Regions from separate parts of the Homo sapiens genome. Here all the other regions are linked to region 4. The links are contacts of gene promoters, found by promoter capture Hi-C in blood cells and fetal thymus (Javierre and others, 2016). All regions are on one chromosome and are shown on one strand. Each heading gives the region's core, a stretch centred on a gene start or on the middle of the fragment in contact. The rest is flanking DNA. Distances are from core to core; before and after follow the strand shown.

The links. The method cuts DNA at HindIII sites, captures the fragments that hold promoters and counts their contacts. A CHiCAGO score of 5 or more calls a contact.
Region 1: a fragment that was not itself captured here is called in contact with the fragment with the promoter of PLEKHJ1 in region 4 in 1 of 17 cell types (total B cells); the score reaches 7.1 in total B cells.
Region 2: a contact is called between the fragment with the promoter of KLF16 here and the fragment with the promoter of PLEKHJ1 in region 4, in 1 of 17 cell types (monocytes). The highest score is 6.3, in monocytes.
Region 3: the fragment with the promoter of ABHD17A here is called in contact with the fragment with the promoter of PLEKHJ1 in region 4 in 3 of 17 cell types (monocytes, neutrophils and fetal thymus); the score reaches 8.2 in monocytes.
Region 5: a contact is called between a fragment that was not itself captured here and the fragment with the promoter of PLEKHJ1 in region 4, in 2 of 17 cell types (neutrophils and monocytes). The highest score is 5.9, in neutrophils.
Region 6: a fragment that was not itself captured here is called in contact with the fragment with the promoter of PLEKHJ1 in region 4 in 1 of 17 cell types (naive B cells); the score reaches 5.6 in naive B cells.

What each region holds. Positions count from the first base shown.
Region 1 is chr19:2,600,788-2,603,807 of GRCh38, reverse strand. The region is part of intron 2 of GNG7 (G protein subunit gamma 7); the gene reads left to right. Among named protein-coding and RNA genes, the nearest start is that of MIR7850, 28 kb to the left of the region's middle. RefSeq lists an enhancer at 1-517. The HindIII fragment of the contact is 7,209 bases long and covers 1-3,020 here.
Region 2 is chr19:1,861,869-1,864,978 of GRCh38, reverse strand. It overlaps KLF16 (KLF transcription factor 16), which reads left to right and starts at 1,400. Exons shown (of 2, transcript NM_031918.4): 1 at 1,400-1,938. The coding sequence starts at 1,482. RefSeq lists silencers at 38-257, 328-1,427, 1,758-1,937, 1,988-2,157, a promoter at 307-1,511 and an enhancer at 2,972-3,110. The HindIII fragment of the contact is 13,147 bases long and covers 1-3,110 here.
Region 3 is chr19:1,884,133-1,886,832 of GRCh38, reverse strand. It overlaps ABHD17A (abhydrolase domain containing 17A, depalmitoylase), which reads left to right and starts at 1,337. Exons shown (of 5, transcript NM_001130111.2): 1 at 1,337-1,481. RefSeq lists a silencer at 1,925-2,072. The HindIII fragment of the contact is 20,961 bases long and covers 1-2,700 here.
Region 4 is chr19:2,234,608-2,237,734 of GRCh38, reverse strand. It overlaps PLEKHJ1 (pleckstrin homology domain containing J1), which reads left to right and starts at 1,406. Exons shown (of 6, transcript NM_018049.3): 1 at 1,406-1,580; 2 at 1,745-1,812; 3 at 1,907-1,973. The coding sequence starts at 1,487. It overlaps SF3A2 (splicing factor 3a subunit 2), which reads right to left and starts at 911. Exons shown (of 9, transcript NM_007165.5): 1 at 834-911. MIR6789 (microRNA 6789) reads left to right here and starts at 1,809; the gene lies at 1,809-1,906. RefSeq lists silencers at 626-725, 1,336-1,965 and enhancers at 1,146-1,195, 774-1,382, 1,991-2,599, 2,602-3,127. The HindIII fragment of the contact is 3,950 bases long and covers 1-2,184 here.
Region 5 is chr19:1,931,285-1,934,166 of GRCh38, reverse strand. No RefSeq gene overlaps it. Among named protein-coding and RNA genes, the nearest start is that of CSNK1G2, 8.4 kb to the left of the region's middle. The HindIII fragment of the contact is 7,321 bases long and covers 1-2,882 here.
Region 6 is chr19:2,639,712-2,642,456 of GRCh38, reverse strand. All of the region lies in intron 2 of GNG7 (G protein subunit gamma 7), which reads left to right. Among named protein-coding and RNA genes, the nearest start is that of MIR7850, 10 kb to the right of the region's middle. The HindIII fragment of the contact is 7,333 bases long and covers 1-2,745 here.

The sequences.
Region 1 (3,020 bases), core at 102-2,601, 370 kb before region 4:
TCCTCCTTCTGTAAAATAAATCTAGGTGACACAATCTCTGAAATCCTTTCCAGCTTGAACACGCTAGGAAAAACTGGGAGATCTATGAACAGTGAATAAAAATGAACTGAAATGATCCTCCTAGCTGCAGGGGCTTCTGATGCCTGCATTCTCCAGATGGTTGGTTTCCTAAATTTAGCCGCCGCCCCGCAAGGGTGAGCCCTGCATAGTTTTTGGTCGATCTCCAGTCCAGGCTGTGAATACACAGCCCTGATTTGCATTTCTGAACCCTCGGGGATGGCTGGATTCCTCGGGCTACTCTGCTTGGAATTTTCAGCCCCAGAGAGCCACCGCGGTCTCACCGGATGCCGGTCCCACCCGATGCGAGAAGCTCCGGGGGTTCCCCCTCATTCTGGCATCAGCTCCCTCTCTGCAGCCTGTGGAACAGAAAGAACACAGCTTTAGGCCGGGCACGGCGGCTCACGCCTGTAATCCTAGCACTTTGGGAGGCCGAGGCGGGTGGATCACGAGGTCAGGAGATCGAGATCACCCTGGCTAACACGGTGAAACCCCGTCTCTACTAAAAATACAAAAATTAGCCAGGCATGGTGGTGCGCACCTGTAATCCCAGCTACTCGGGAGGCTGAGGCAGGAGGATCGCTTGAACCCGGGAGGCGGAGGTTTCAGTGAGGCAAGACTGTGCTATTGTGCTCCAGCCTGGGCAACAAGAGCGAAACTCCATCAAAAAAAAGAACAGAACAGAACAGAAAAGAGAAAAAGAAAGAAAGAAAGGGAAGGAAGGAAGGGGAAAGGAAAGGGAGAAAGAAAAGAAAGGAAGGAAGGAAAGAGAGAGAGAAAGAAAGAAAGAGAAAGAAAAGAAAGAAAGGAAGAAAGGAAGAAACAAAAAGAAAGAAAGAAAGAAAGAAAGAAAAAGAGAAAAAGAAAGAGAAAGAGAGAAAAGGGTGGGTAGCGCATCTTTCCTTGCAGAGCCGCAGTGAGCCCCCTTCCAGCTGTGAACTATCAACCTGCCTATAAAAGGCAATTCTGATTGAAGGAAAAGGGAGGGGTGGTGGTGAGGGGAGGGCCGGGTGGCCCTCTGCCCAGCCCGAGATTGGCTTCCGTTTCTGGCTTGCTGTCCAGCGTATGGGATTGATTTAGATTCCCAGAACACCACGGAAGGTAGCACATGCTGTGACGATTGCGTAGTGGTTCGTGCTCCGGGGCCCGGTTGGAGATCCCTGCTGCCCGTCTGTCCGCCTGTGCGAGGCCACAGATCTGCCTGCATTTCCCTGCAGGCTCGGGAGGAGCTGGCAGAACCTGCTGCTTCTGCACAGCGCATTCCTGTCTGCTGGCAGCTCCTCCCCAGCGCCCTGAAGGGAGTGCTGGATCTGCTTAAAAGCGTGCAGGAGGGGGTGGGTACAGGGGAGCCAGGGCCTGCAGAGGACGCAGCCCGCAGCCCAGTCCTCAGTGCTGCTTTTTCTGTTGTTGTTTTGAGACGGAGTCTCGCTCTGTCGCCCAGGCTGGAGTGCAGTGGCGCGATCTCAGCTCACTGCAACCTCTGCCTCCCGGGTTCAAGCAATCCTCCTGTCTCAGCCTCCCAAGTAGCTGAGATTACAGGCGTGCACCACCACGCCCGGCTAATTTTTGCATTTTTAGTAGAGACGGGGTTTCACCATGTTGGCCAGGCTGGTCTCGAACTCCTGACCTCAGGTGACCTGCCCATCTCGGCCTCCCAGAGTGCTGGGATTACAGGCGTGAGCCACTGTGCCCGGCTTCTAGTGCTTCTCCAGATCCTAGCAGACTTTCTTCCCCAGGGTGCCTCCACAGTGCTGCTTGCAGATTCTGGAAGGATCATCTGGGATTCCACTGCTCTCCTCCCCTCTCCTCTCCTCCCCTCCCCTCCCCTGTCTTCTCTTTTCTTCTTTCTGAGACAGGGTCTTACTCTGTGGCCCAGGCTGAAGTGCAGTGATGAAATCATAACTCACTGCAACCTCAGCCTCCTTAAGTGAGCCTCCCGCTTCAACCTCCCTAGTAGCTGGGACTACAGGCTCACACCACCATGCCCGGCTAATTTTTTTATAAAGACAGGGTCTCGCCATGTTGCTCAGGCTGGTCTCGAACTCCTGGGCTCAAGGGATCCTCCTGCCCCGGCCTCCCAACGTGCTTGGGATTACAGACGTGAGCCACCATGCCCGGCCTTCACTGCCTTTCTTTTCCTCAATAAAAATCTGACATCGGGGGATTGCATTGCTCTGTTACCCTTTCTTCAGGCACCTCTCTTTTCCTGCTGCCAAACAGTGGAGACAGGAAGCCAAAAAAAATTGCCCAGTCCTTGTTCCTGGGGAGCTCATTGTAGAGCAGGGGAGACAGACACGTATATTGCAAGCATGTACATGTATCTGCAATAGGCACGAGCCGCGCCGTGGCAGGACTGAGTCCACATGGCTGGGGAAACACACTGCCTGGTAACTGGAGGCTGGTCAGATAGTGGTTGAGCTGAATTGAGGAGTTACCTACTCTAGGGTTTACCTACTTGTGCCCCATGGTTTTTAGGGACAACAGGCATCCCAGCTGTACCCCGGGCCATCTGGATGGAACTAGAATGGATGCAAAGAACACAGCTTTGGAGTCAAGCAAACCTTCCTTAGTTCTATTTTTTACATAAGTAATAATTTGTTTTTGGAGATGGTGGCGGGGGGGAGGTCTCTCCTTGTCACCCAGGCTGGAGTGTAGTGGCGTGATCCTAGCTCACTGCAGCCTCAAACTCCCGGGCTCAAGCGATCCTACCACTTCAGCCTCCCAAGTAGCTGGGAGCACAGGCACACACCACCACAACTGCTTTATGTTTCTCTTTTTTATTCTCCTTCAGCCGTACTTTTCAGCTTTGAGGACTTGAGCAGGTTTATTACCATCTTGGATCGCATTTTCTCTTCTGTGAAGTAGAGAGAATACCTGTGTATTGGAGTTCTCAAAGTGTGGTCCAGGGACACCCAGGGGTTGGTCTCTGAGACCCTTTTGGTGGGGGACCACTAGGTCAAAAC
Region 2 (3,110 bases), core at 151-2,650, 370 kb after region 4:
GGGCCTCTGTCCATGCCCAACCCAGAGCAGGAGGTCGCCGCAGGCCAAAGCAGCTCCGCCCCCTGGAGGCAGCTCCGGCCACTGCGCAGTCCCCGCCGCCCCGCCGGAGCTGGGAAGGGGCGGGAGCGCGGTCGCGACCGAGGGGGGCCGCCCAGTTTCTGTGCCCCCGCCGCCTTGGGCCTGCGAACTGGGCCATCCGCGTCCCTGGTGTCCCCCCTAATATTTAACAAGTTGGCCTGGACGTCCTCGCGGCCGGGAGGCCCGAATACCTGGCCTCAGTTTTCCCGTCCGAACCCCAAGAATCGATGCCTGGGAATGGAAAGAGAAGCCCCGGACCCCGGTGTCCCAGCAGGGCGGGGAACCTCTGACCCGCTCAGGCGCCCCCAGCCCAGCCCAGCCCTTTGCGTTCGGCCCCCTCTTCCCGTCCCCCTATCCCGACCCTCTGGGACCCAACCGGCCCTCCCCACCCCCAGTGGGGCGCGCTCTAGTAGCTCCGGAACTGGGTGCAAAAAGAGGAACGAACGCAGCCTTGCCCCACCCTCCCGGGCCCCGCCGCGGGCGCGGGATACCGGGTGTCTCGGCCGGGAGGCTCCGAGGGGCTCTGTGAGCGGCGAGGGGGAACCCCAGAGAAGAGGACGAGCAGATGCCTGAGTGCGGGGTCAAAGCAGGGCCCCAGGCCGGGAGAAGAGGGGGGAAGGGTCGCGCACGTGGCCTGGGGGCGGGGCCGGCCGCTTCCGCACCCCTCCAACCCCGGCCACGTGGGGATCGGAGCCCTCCTCCATCGCGAACGGGGGCGCGCCCGGGGCCAGGAGGGAAGCATCCGGGGAGGGGGCGGGCTCCCGCCGGCCGCGCGCCCCGGCGTGGGGTGGGCGCGCCAGCGAGGAGGCGGGGCGCGCTCTGGGAGGGAGGGGCGTGCCGGGATGGGGCGGGGCGCGCTCTCGGAAGGAGGGGCGTGCCGGAGAGGGGGCGGGGTCCTCGGCCTCCCGCCCCGGCTTGAGGGGGTGGTGCTCCGGGAAAGGGTACGGGGGCGCGCGCTGGAGTGGGGCGCGCCGGGAGGGGGCGGGGCTCCCGGCCTTGCACCCTAGCGCGGAGAAGGCGCGCTCCGGGCCTAAGACGCTAGGCGCTGGCGGAGGCCGGAGTGGGCGCGCCGGGGGGCGGGTTCCTCCGGCCCGAGCCCCGCCCCCGGCGGCCGCGCGCGGCTCGGAGAGTGGTGGAGGGCGCGCCGGGCGGGGGGCGTGGCTGCGGCGCCCCGAGGGGGCGTCCTCCGGGCGGGGCGGGCTGTGGCCGCCCCCGCGGGCTCCGGTGCGTCAGGACGCGTCAGGCGGGGCGGGGCAGGCCGAGCGCGGGCGTCGGCGGCGGCGCGCGCCGGGCCTCCTCCTCCTCCTCCTCCGCCTCCCGCACTCGAGCAGCCGCCGCCGGCCGGACGGACGCCGCTCCCGCCGCCTCCGCTCCGCCCGCCGCGCCGCGCGCCCTTGCTCGGCATGTCGGCGGCCGTGGCGTGCGTGGATTACTTCGCCGCCGACGTGCTCATGGCCATCTCTTCGGGCGCCGTGGTGCACCGCGGGCGGCCCGGCCCCGAGGGCGCGGGCCCCGCCGCCGGCCTGGATGTGCGCGCGGCGCGCCGCGAGGCCGCCTCACCCGGGACCCCGGGGCCACCCCCGCCGCCCCCCGCCGCTTCTGGCCCGGGCCCCGGCGCCGCCGCGGCGCCCCACCTGCTGGCCGCCAGCATCCTGGCCGACCTGCGCGGCGGACCCGGAGCCGCCCCGGGGGGCGCCTCGCCCGCCTCCTCCTCCTCAGCCGCCTCGTCCCCGTCCTCGGGCCGCGCCCCCGGCGCCGCGCCCTCCGCCGCCGCCAAGAGCCACCGCTGTCCCTTCCCGGACTGCGCCAAAGCCTACTACAAGTCCTCGCACCTAAAGTCGCACCTGCGGACGCACACAGGTGAGTGCAGCCGCGATCCCGGCCCTTGCGGGGGCGGCCGCCTGAGACCCCTCCCCCGCCAGGACCCCGAAACTGCGTGGCGCGTGGGGGGCGGGGAGGGGGGCGCGCCCGGGCCGCCGCCGCGCCGGCCGGCAGGGCGGGGCCTCGGTGGGTGGGGCGCGCGCGGGGGGCGTGGCGGCCACGCGGTCGGGCGGCGAGCGGATGGCCGCCCCGGCGGCAGTGGCGGGGGCTCCGGGGGCCCAGCGAGGTCTGCGGGCGGGATTGAGACTCCTGGGCAGACCACCTCTCTCCCTTTCTGGGCCTTGTTCCGTTTTTTTTTTTTTCTTTTGCGTTCTGGTCTGGGCGGTGGGCACCGTGGTTGGAGCATCCGGCTCTGGGGTTCTGGGTTCTCCCCCTCCCCCAGCCTCAGTTTCCTTATCTGTGAAAATGGAGGAGGAACCGCGTCGCCGCCGCCGGGGTGGCCGCGCGGATTCTCCCCAGAGGTCGGCAGAGCACCTGGCGTGGGGCCAGGATGGGGGGAGCCCGGCACGTTTTCTCTGCGTTCTCTGTATTTTAACGAGGGGGAGGGCGAGGCTAGGAGCGCGGGTTGGGGCCTGAGTCTGGGCGGGGGAACTTCATAGTATTGGAGGACCCTCGAGGGGCTCGGGTCCACACTGCTGTATTTCCCTGGCGTGTTTGTTCACCCCTACCTGGCGGGCGATTCGGGAAGGTGCGCGTAGTTGGAGCGCTTCGGCTACACCAACGCCCCTCCTAGCGCAGTCCCCGGGGCGGCGAGGGGAACCGGGAGCCTGGTGGGCCTGGCTGTATTTTTTCACTCCGTCCCCTCCTAGGGTTCCACTTTCTGGACTGGGAGTTTGGACTGGGCAACAGGGGACGGTGGGCCTTGATGGCCGGCCCTGGTTTGGGCATTAGAGGTGCTTGTCCCTTCCGGGGAGGGTGGGGGGCTGGGGGAAAGCTGTGCGGCTGCCCTTGGGCTTGGCATTCTGGCCTTGCCACCAAACAGAAGACCTCTACCCGATCTGGGTCTCAATTTTCTCATTTCTATCAAGAGTGCGATGCTGCCTCTATTTCATAGCCATAGCGGTGGCCGCTTTGGGCAGCTGGACACTCCAAGGAGGCTTGGTCCGTGGGCTCGGATTGTAGGGACACGTGGAGCAGCCGAAGGGAAGTGG
Region 3 (2,700 bases), core at 88-2,587, 350 kb after region 4:
CTACAGGCGCCCGCCACCACGCCCGGCTATCTTTTTGTATTTTTAGTAGAGATGAGGTTTCACCGTGTTAGCCAGGATGGTCTTGATCTCCTAACCTCATGATCTGCCCGACTCGGCCTCCCAAAGTGCTGGGATTATAGGCGTGAGCCACCGCGCCCAGCCCATAATGAAATTTTTTTAAGAGACAGGATCTTGCTCTCTCGCCCAGGCTGGAATGCAGTGGAGTGATCATAGTTTTATTTATTTATTTATTTATTTATTTATTTATTTATTTATTTATCTGAGACAGTCTTCTTGCTCTGTCACTTGGGCTGGAGCACAGTGGCCCGATCTTGGCTCACTGCAACCTTCGCCTCCCGGGTTCAAGCGATTCTCCTGCCTCAGCCTCCGGAGTAGCTGGGACTACAGGCGCGTGCCACCATGCCCGGCTAATATTTGTATTTTTAGTAGAGACAGGGTTTCACCACGTTGGTCAGGCTTGGTCTCAAACTCCTGACTTCAGGTGATCTACCTGTTTCAGTCTCCCAAAGTGCTGGGATTACAGGCATGAGCCACCGTGCCCGGCCTAATGTAATATTTTAAAAACTAATGCAAAAGAATTTCTGATGAGCAATATATAAAGACTTTAAATAAGCTGGTCATGGTGGCTTGTGCCTATAGTCCTAGCTACTCAGGAGGCTGAAGTAGGAGGTTCACTTGATCCTGGGAGGTCGAGGCTGCAGTGAGCTATGATGGCACCAGCCTGGGTGACAGAGTAGACTCTATGTTAAAAAAAAGAGGCCAGGTGCGGTGGCTGATGCCTGTAATCCCAACACTTTGGGAGGCTGAGGCAGGAGGATTCTGGGGTCAGGAGTTCGAGGCCACACTGGCCAACATGGGGAAACCCCGTCTCTACTGAAAACACAAAAATTAGCTGGGCATGGTGGTGGGCGCCGGTAATCCCAGCTACTCAGGAGGCTGAGGCAGGAGAATCGCTTGATCCCAGGAGGCAGAAGTTGCAGTGAGCTGAGATCGCGCCATTGTACTCCAGCCTGGGCGACAGAGCGCGACTCCATCTCATAAAGAAAAATATTTTAAAACATTTCTAAATGTTGATGTCTGAGTTTTTTTTGGCGTCCCTGTAAATTTTGTTTTCCAGGCGAGAACTTTACTGGCCTCAACCTATTCCGGGTCCCCAAGTGAATGAAACCTAAGTTTGGCCCCGCCCACAGAGCAGCAGGCCACGCCCCTCGACATATCAGCCCCGCCCCCAGGACGCTAGTCGCGCGGTCGCTCTGTGCCTGCAGACCCCCGCCCCGCGCGCTCCTCGCGTCACTTCCGGGGCGGTGGTGAGAACGAGGCTCACTTCCGTCCGTGGGGGGAGCTGCGGCGGTGGCGGTGCAGGAGGCCGGGCAGGGGTGCGGAGGGACCGACGGACGCACGGGCGGGCGGCCGGGAGCCATGGAGCGCGGCCCTGGGGCCCGGGGGCGCGGGCCGGGGTGGTGAGTGCCGGGCAGGGGCGGGGGCGGGCGCGGCCGCGCGGGGTCCCGGGCCGGGCCTCGAGGGCCTGACAGCCCGGTTGGACGTCCCCGAGACCCCTGCAGTCCCAGGGCTTCCGCGGGTCCTGCCCGAGGAGCCCAGAGCAGGGGCGCGGACCGCGGATGAGCGTCTGTGATTGGGAAAGCCCTGTCCCCATCCATTCAGCCCTCCGGCGTGGGTTGCGCTCCCACCCTCCTGCGGACGCGGCCCTTGCCTTCGGGGAGCACCCGTCCGAGCCGCGGATTCCGCTCTTTTGCCCCGAAACTGCCCCCAGTCCGACAAACGCTTCGGCCTCTCGCCCCCCAAGGCAGCTCCCAGGGGCCCTCCCGAGCCCTGCTTCCCAACCAGCTCCCAGTCGCTGTTTCCCTTGTCAGGCTTCTTCCTGCCACCCTGACTCCTGGGCGGGCTTCCCGGCCTCCGCTCGCGTCCGTTCTCCGGGATGCAGCCCTTCTCCTATGTTGTCCATCGCTTGCTCGGGACTTCTTCGCGGCCCCGCCATTTCTCCCAGGATGAAGTGCAAACTCTCGGGGGCGCGACCTCACCCGTCCCAGGCTCTCTCTTAGGACCCTTCTGCTCACTTCTTCCTCCCAGGGTCTGCTCTAGCCAGGAGCCTGCTCTGTCACCTCGGATTTTGCTCCTGCTTGTCCCTCTGTCCCATCCCCCTGTCACCTGGCCCGTTTGTCTGCCCTCTGATATGGCCGCGCCTCCCCCCAGGCGGGTTTCCCACCCTGACTGGTTGAGTGAGGTGCAGTCACCGTCTCCCATATGTAGGTCATCTTCCAGTATTTTGGCTGCTCGGTTGCTTGCTGGTCCTCAGAACACCTCTAGCTTGCAGAGGGTTGCCCAGTTAAGTGCGTGGGAACGGAATTGGTGGGATTCAGGGTGTCAAGGGTGTGTGCCCAGTGAGTGAGGCGTCTGGGTTTGCACTCCCCAGTCCACGCCCATTAGTGACACTAGGGAGGTTCCAGGTACCTGTGGCTGGAGAGGAGAGGAGACTAGACTTTCCCTTCCCTGTCAAAGCTGGCGGACCTTGGGGATTCTTTTCCTCCTGTGCTTCCTCCTTAATTCTGTGCTGCCTACCACCTGCCCATTCCTTTAGTGAGTGGCAGGTCATGGTCCTGCTCTCATAGAGTTTCTGGTTTGGAGGTGGGGGGAGATCTGGCCAAACGTGTGAAAAATACA
Region 4 (3,127 bases), core at 157-2,656:
TCACAGGAATTACATCACAGAGCCCCAGTCAACTAACAGGTATAGATGAGCATACAGAAGCGTTCTCGGCTACAAGGAAGGCGGCCGAAACCATTTCAGCCGCGATCCCGATTCGACCCCAACGAATCTTGGTTGTTTCTTTTTTATTTTGTCAAACAGGGTCTTGCTCTGTTGTCCAGGCTGGAGTGCAACGGCACAATCACAACTCACTGCAGCCTCGACCTCCTGGACTCAAGCGATCTTCCCGCTTCAGCCTCCAGAGTAGCTGGGACTACAGGCGCGCGTCACCAACCACGCCCGGCTAATTTTTTTTTTTTTTTTTTTTGCAGTGATGGGGTCTCGCTATGTTGCCCAGGCTGGAGTGCAGTGGTGGGATCATGGCTCACTGCAGCCTCGACATTCCGAGCTCAAGCGATCCTCTCGAGTAGCTGGGCCTACAGGTACAACCACCACTCCTGGCTAATTTTTTAAAATTTTTTGTAGAGATGGGGGTCTCGGTGTGTTGTCCAGGCTGGTCTCGAACTCCTGGCCTCAAGCGATCCTCCCGCCAAGGCCTCCCTGAGCAGTGAGATTACAGGCGTGAGGCCCCGCGCGCGGCCTCCCAACAGGAGTTTGGAAATAGAGTTCCTGGCGGGCCCGACCCTCCAGGCCCGCCCAGCGCGGGGCCTCAGGATGCACAAGGCCGGACGCTCACGGGAGGAGGGAGGGGAGCGACGCCGCCGCCCCACCCTCGGCCCGCGGCCTGTCGCAAGCGCCTCTCTCCTACGTCCGCTGTCCCCCAGGGAACCCCCGGTCCGCGTCGGCCGCCGCCCTCAACCGCCTCTACTCCTCACCAGAGCCCAAGGCCGCGTTATCTCCTCCTCGTTTCGCCACCTCCACGACTTCGTTTGGCGAACGGCGGGCAAAGAAAGCACTTCCGGGGCAAATGAGACGGGCCCTCTGGTGTGCGCATGCCTGGCCCGCCCAGCGGCGTGAGTCAGAGGGTCCCGAGGCGCGAAGGAAAAGGCTGGAGGGGGAGAGGCTGAAAGCGCGGCCTGGAAGGCAAACTGCGCGTGCGCACAACGCTCTCAACGAACCCTCGGTCCGCTGCGGCCGCACGGGGCCAACTTTCGCGAGGGAGCGGCTGACACTCTCCGGGCGACGTTATCGCTCCCTCCGCCTGCGCCTGGCCGCTCTAGAAAGGGGTGCCAGCCATCGCTGGGGTGCCTTGATTCTGTTCCACCTTGGTCCGGTTTATTTCAGTTTAATGGTTATGTAACAACGGTCCGTCTCTCCTACCAACCGGTACCCCGCCCACGCCAGCAGCCACGGGTCGCCAGCGCCACGCAGCGGAGGCGGGCGGCATGGCTGGCCCAAGGTGCGCAGGCGCACTAGCCCTGGGGGTGCTTCCGTGTCTGCGCCCTGAGACATTTTTGGCGCCGGCCCCAGCCTGAGCGGGGACGGCGGCCGGGAGGGCGCGGCCCGGGTTCCCGTTCCCCGCGGAGCCATGCGGTACAACGAGAAGGAGCTGCAGGCTCTGTCCCGGCAGCCGGCCGAGATGGCGGCCGAGCTGGGCATGAGGGGCCCCAAGAAGGGCAGCGGTGAGCGGGACCCGGGAGACCGAGACAGTGCCAGGGGCGGGAGGCCGGGGCCGGGGTCTGGGCGGGGGTGCCGGAGGCCGGAGTCCGGGTCGGGGCGCCGGGGACGGGAGGCCGGGGTCCGGGCGGGGGCTGCCTGCGCCCCTGAGTGCGCGCTGTGCCCGCAGTGCTGAAGCGGCGGCTGGTGAAGCTGGTGGTGAATTTCCTCTTCTACTTTCGGACAGACGAGGCCGAGGTAGGGGCGTCCCGGGCGCGCGGGCGGGTCCCAGGCTGGGCCCCTCGGAGGCCGGGTGCTCACTGCCCCGTCCCGGCGCCCGTGTCTCCTCCAGCCCGTCGGAGCCCTGCTGCTGGAGCGCTGCAGAGTCGTCCGGGAAGAGCCCGGCACCTTCTCCATCAGTGAGTGGGGCTAGGGAAGCCAGCGGCGCTTCCCGCAGCCCGGGGCACCCGCAGCGCCGCACTTTCCCCTCCCCGGGCGCCCAAGGTCTCCTCTGTGTCCCCAGCCTGGCGCCACCCTCCTCAAACACAAGAGTGCATTGTCCACGGGCAGCTCAAGGTCAAGTTCTCCTGGCGGGCACCACCCTTCCCACCTGCCGAGTCCACTTAAGCTTGGGTCCCTCCCAGACTCTGCTCTTTGTTCCCTGTGGGCCCAGGCTGTACTTACAGGGCAGGTGGGCCAGCCCCACCCAAAGCGTTTCCCCAGCTGCCAAGAGTAGCATGGGTCTAGCATTGTTATATGGCCCCGGGCTGGAAATCCCAGGTGGGGGTAGGAGGAGTGAGAGGGGGGTGTTCTCCTGGGTCTTAAGAGATTCCCTTCTGCGGGGAAAGATGGAGTCCCTGCTAGTTTGCCCAGAGTGGCTGTCAAAATTCCACAGGCCAGGTGGCTTAAATATCAGAAACATTCTCTACAGTTCTGGAGGCCAGAAATCCTAGATGAAGGTGTGGGTGGGGCCGAATCCTTCTGAGGCCGAGGGGAATCTCCCAGTTCCTAGTGGTGGCCAGTATCCTCCAGGTTCCTTGGCTTGTGGAAGCGTCACCTTGTCCTCCTTGCATCACGTCTGTGCCCACATTTCCCCTTCTACACAGACGCCAAGCAGAATTTAGGGCCCACCCTGACAACCCCTTTTTACTTCACTTTATTATTTTATTTGCTTATTTTTTGAGACAGGGTCTTGGTATGTCGCCCAGGCTGGAGTGCAGTGGTGCAATCTCGGCTCCCTGTAACTTCCCCCTCTCGGGTTCAAGTGATTCTCCTGCCTCAGCCTCCCGAGTAGCTGGTACTACAGGCACGCGCCACCATGCCCAGCTAATTTTTGTATTTTTAGTAGAGACGGGGTTTCGCCATATTGGCCAGGCTGCTCTCGAACTCCTGACCTCAGGTGATCCTCCCACCTCGGCCTCCCAAAGTGCTGGGATTACGGTCTTGAGCCACCGTACCCGGCCCTCTTTATTTTTGAGACAGGATCTTTTGTTTCCGAGGCTGGAGTGCAGTGGCGTGATCACAGCTCACTGCAGCCTCAACCCCCTTGGCTCAAGCAGTCCTCCCACTTCTG
Region 5 (2,882 bases), core at 153-2,652, 300 kb after region 4:
ATGTCTGTCTCTGGGTCTTTGTGTGCGTGGGTGTGTGTGCGCACCTGTGCATCTGGGTGTGTGTGTGTGTGTTCGTCGGTGGGTCTATGGGGGGGTGTGCATTTGTGTGCCTGTGTTTGGCATGCCTGTGTGTGGTGTGTGTTGGTTTGTGTATTGTGTGTGTGAGCATGTGAGTGCCTGCATGGGGGGTATTCAGGAACGCTGCTGTGAATGGCATCGCTCAGCGTCAGGGAACCGTCTTGCTCCAGGTTTTGGGCTGTTTCATGGAGGCTGGGGGATGTTCTTGTTGATGATGCAGCCCACTTGGACTTAACTTATTTTTGGTCATATTGCACCTAAATGGTCCTCCTGGCATTCACTCTGTTCATTTGCCCCTGGTGCCTGGGGACTCCTCCCATGGTGGTGACCAGGGTCTCTCCCACATCTCTTGTCACCAAGGCCAGCCACAGAGGGCAGCCTGCAGTGGACAGGGTGCAGGACAGGGCAACAATGACCATGATGCTTCATGGAAGATGTGAGCTCCCCCCAGGGAGCCTCCCATCCAGAGCCCCCACCCCTCAGCTCGATGGAATGCCCAGCCCCTTGGTGCTGCAACCCCAGTAGGAGGGTGGCATCCTGGACCCAGGCAACAGGGATGCTGCATGCCACAAACACTGAGACACAAAGAAGAAGTGGTTCAAAAGCTGGGTGTGATGGTCACAGATTCTTTGCTGCTCCTCCCACGGAAAGACACAGTTCATTTCCCCTCCCCTGAATGTAGCTGCTCCTGTGACCTGTTTTAGCAACAGAAGGCAGGGGAAGTGGTGCCTTGAGACTTCTGAGGGAGGGTCTTACGAGCTCGACAGTAGGCTGGGCATGGTGCTTACACCTGTCATCCCAGCACTTGGGGAGGCCGAGGCGGGCAGATCACCCGAGGTCAGGAGTTTGAGACCAGCCTAGCCAGCACGGTGAAACCCTGTCTCTACTAAAAATACAAAATTAGCTGGGCGTGGTGGTGGGCACCTGTAATCCCAGCTACTCGGGAAGCTGAGGCAGTAGAATCACTTGAACCTGGGAGGTGGAGGTTGCAGTGAGCCGAGACTGCGCCATTACACTCCAGCCTGGGTGACAGAGTGAGACTGTGTCTCAAAAAAAAAAAAAAAAAAAAAAGAACTCAACAGCGTCCTTTCTGCTTGGAACCCAGCTGCCATCTTGTGAGGCAGCCACCTGGAAGCCCCTGGGTGATGGCACCACTGAGCAGGCACCACCTGCCAGCCCTGTGAGTGAGCTACCTCAAACATTCCCGGCCAGGGAAAGCCACTAAATGATTGCTGATTACCCCCCATCACCACAGGGAGCAGAACTGCCCAGCTGAGCCCGGACACCCCGCATCATGTCAGATATAATCCACTGCCATTCTACCTTAGCCACCCCAAATCCCTAGGGCTGAATGAGGTCATCAAATAATGATTCCTCTCCCACTTTCTCCCCTCTGCTAGTCCCTGGCAGACTGGAGGATGGCCCAGAGGCAGCCAGGTGAGGGGTGACGCCCTTCAAGGCCCTGCTCCAGTGGTCCTCACCAACTACAACCGCCCTGCAGAGCCCCGCTGTGCCCTGCACCTGCTCCCCGGCCCTCATGCCGCTGCCAGGAGTGTCTGTGCTCATCTGTCTTCTCTCCCCTCCAGCCTGAGAAAGCTCCTTCTTCCCACCCCTTACCAGAAATATAAATTGGCCGGGCGCGGTGGCTCATGCCTGTAATCTCAGCACTTTGGGAGGCTGAGGCAGGCAGATCACGAGGTCAGGAGATCGAGGCCATCCTGGCTAACATGGTGAAACCCCGTCTCTACTAAAAATACAAAAAATTAGCCAGGCATGGTGGCGGGCGCCAGTAGTCTCAGGTACTTGGGAGGCTGAGGCAGGAGAATGGCGTGAACCCAGGAGGCAGAGCTTGCAGTGAGCCAAGATGGTGCCGCTGCACTCCAGCCTGGGTGACAGAGTGAGACTCCGTCTCAAAACAAAAAAAAAGAAAAAAAGAAATATAAATTTACTCCTTGCCCCTTCTGTGTTTCAAAGGAGGGTGGCTTTTCAAAGTCCCCACAATGGGGACAGCATTCGAGGCTGCCTCAATGGCTGGTTCCACTTCGCAGCCCCATCTATCCATCAGGACGCCCTCTGCACCCATACTGACTTGTTCCTTTCCAACCCACCCTGACCCTCCACCCATCTGAGCCTTGTCTGGCTTCTCTCAGCCCAACAGGTCTGGCAAAGCTCAGGCAGATGATCACCTCTTTTGGGAGGACTCCATGATACATCAGGCCAAATGAATCCAACCCACCAGCCTCTGGAACTGCTTTCGTCCATGTACTTATGTGTTCTGCCTTCCATGATGGATATTCATGGTCTGTCTGCCCCACTAGGCAGCAGCTCCTGAGGACAGGAACTAAACCTCTTTAAAATGCCTTCAAAAACCCTGCCATGCACCCTGATACAGCCCTAGTTAGTGTACATATTATTATCAGGTTTCTGAAGATAATCCAGGAACACCTATTGTATCAGTCAGCTACTGCTGCATAACAAATTATACCAAACTCAGTGGCCTAAAACAACACATGTCTTTGTGATATGACTGGTGAAATAAATTAAGCAAAAACAAATTATTATTTTTTTTAATAAAAAAGAAGAGGCTGGGAGCCATGGCTCATGCCTGTAATCCCAGCACTTTGGGAGGCTGAGGCAGGCAGATCACCTGAGGTCAGGGGTTTGAGACCAGCTTGGCCAATATGGTGAAACCCAATCTCTACTAAAAATACACAAAAATTAGCTGGGTGTGGTGGCGGGCGCCTGTAGTCCTGGCTACTTGGGCGGCTGAGGCAGGGAAATCTCTTGAACCTGGGAAGCAGAGG
Region 6 (2,745 bases), core at 77-2,576, 400 kb before region 4:
GAGGTCGAGGCTGCAGTGGGCTATGATTGCACCACTGCACTCCAACCTGGGCAACAGAGCCAGACCCTGTCTAAAAAACAGAAACAAATAACCCCATTCATTTCGACAGGGAAACGCTAGCAGCTGCGGAGCTAATAGTGTTTGCAAGCTAGGATACGGCAATTCTCAGCAAGAAACATTGCGATTTCTGATCTCCCGTGGGCCCTTTTGGAAAGACTGCCCGTGATGGGGTCATCGTTCTCCATGACCTGTCCCAGAAACACGTGTCCCATGGTGGGGGTCTGTGAGAACAGCTCCCTGGCAGGCAGGCTGTGGGCTGGTGGGGCTGCCCACTAAGCCCCGAGGGCCTGGATCGGAGCTGCTAGATCCTCTTTGGGCACTGGTGGATGTAGGCACCTCCTGCCCCAGACGTAACAAGTGACTACTGATGTAGAACGGCTTCTCCCACACAGTTATTATCTGACAGCGCTGAAGCTCAGAAGTCTAACGTAGGGCCAGGCGCGGTGGCTCACTCCTGTAATCCCAGCACTTTGGGAGGTCGAGGTGGGCGGATCACCTGAGGTCAGGAGTTTGAGACCATCCTGGCTAACATGGTGAAACCCCATCTCTACTAAAAATACAAAAAAAACCAGCCAGGTGTGGTGGTGTGCATCTGTAGTCCCAGCCACTCAGGAGGCTGAGGCAGGAAAATCGCTTGAGCCCGGGAGGCGGAGGTTGCAGAGCCAAGATCACGCCACTGCACTCCAGCCTGGGCGACAGAGTGAGACTCCATCTCAAAAAAAGAAAAAATAAAAAAAAAAGAAGTCTAACATAGGCCTCACTGGGCTAAAATCATGGAAAATCAAGGTGTGGGCAGGCCAGTCCCTCCTTGGGGCTCCAGGGGAAAATCTGGTTCCCGCATTTCCCAGCGTCTAGAGGCACCCACATCCCTTGGCTCGGGGCCCCCTCCTCCCCCTTCACAGCCACAGTGAAGCCTCTTCCAGTCTCTGTTTGACTCTCACCCTCCTGCCTCTTCTCCTGAGGACGCTATGAGGACATTGGGGCCCCCAGATCACCCCGGATGCTATCCTATCTCACGATCCTTAACTTCATCCCATCTGCGGTCCCTTTTGACATGGAGCTGACCTGTCCACGGCTTCTGGGGTTAGGATGGGGCTGTCGCTGGGAGCCTGCTGTTCCTTCTGCTGACATGGGGAATGGGCTGGAGGGGTGAGCAGAGCCGACTTCCTCCCTTGCCTGGTCACTCACCTGCCTGTGACCTCAAGGAGAGAGGAAGAGGCTCCCCGTGGGGATCTGCCGGGCGCAACTCTGGCCATCGCAGGGCTGAGTTCTCGAGGCTAAGAGCCACTGAGGGTCAGCTGCGGGACCCGAGTCCCTTCTTCTTGTACCACCTCTGGGGACCATCTGCCAGTTTCTGGAGTGCCTCCCCTTCATTTCATAGACTTAAGTTTCTCAAGCAGGTCATTTTAGGGATGGCAGTTTGGCCTGAAGCCCTTTGATCCCTGATTGACGTCAGAACTTGGTGAGAGCCTGGGTGTGGTGGCTCACGCCTGTCATCGCAGCACTTTGGGAGGCCAAGGCGGGAGGATGGCTTGAGCCCAGGAGTGTGAGACTAGCCTGGGCAACATAGCAAGACCCCATCTCTACAAAAAAATTAAACAATTAGCTGGGTGTTACAGTGTGTACCTGTGGTCCCAGCTACACTGGAGGCTGAGGCAGGAGGATCACTTGAGCCTAGGAGATCGAGTGGTGCAGTGAGCCGAGATCACACCACTGCACTCCAGCCTGGGCAACAGGGCAAGACCCTGTCTCCAAAAAAAGCAACAGCTAAAAAGGTAAAATGAAGAAAAGTACAAAGAAGGCCAAGCCCCTAAGTTCCCCAGCCCAGCACCGATGGGCCTCAGCATCTTGCCAAGCCTGTGCTGGGATTTTCGTGAATTACATTCACCTGTAGATTTCACACAAGGAGGGTTCTATTCTCTCATTCCTCATTCCCATCACTGGGCATCTTTCCTTGTCGAGAAACCTCGACATCCACCCTCATTCTTGACGCTCGTTAAGGCACTCTGTGTGATAGGGGGTGGTGACTTATCACTTTAAAAATGATTTTATAATGTGTTTAACTGGTCCCCCTAGCTGGGCTTTTGGAATGTCTCTCTTTTTCTTGATGTCTTTCTTTCTCTCTTCCTCTCTCTCTCCTTCCTTCCTCTCTCTTTCTTTCCTTCTCCCTCTCTCTTTCTCTCGCCTTCCTCCCTCTCCCCCTTCTCTCTCCTTCCTTCCTATCTCTATCTCCCTCCCTCTGCCGCTTCCTTCCCTCCCTCCTCCCTCCCTCCTCCCCTCCCTCCCTCCTTCCCTCCCTCCTTCCTTCCTCCCTCCCTCCTTCCCTCTCTCCCTCCCTCCTTCCTTCCTTTCTTCCTTCCCTCCCTTCCTCCCTCCCCCTCCCTCCTTCCCTCCCTCTCTTCTTTCTTCCTTCCCTCCCTCCCCCCTCCTTCCTTCCCTCCTTCCTCTCTCCCTCCTTCCTTTCTTCCTTCACTCCCTCCTTCCTTTCTCCCTCCCTCCTTCCCTCTCTCCCTCCCTCCTTCCTTCCTTTCTCCCTCCCCTTCCTTCCTTCCCTCCCTCCTTCCCTCCCTCCCTCCCTTACCCTCTCCTTCCCTCCCTTACCCTCTCCTTCCCTCCCTTCTTCCCCCTTCCCCCCTCCTTCCTCCCCCTCCCTCCCTCCTTCTCTCCCTTCCCTCCCTTCCCCCC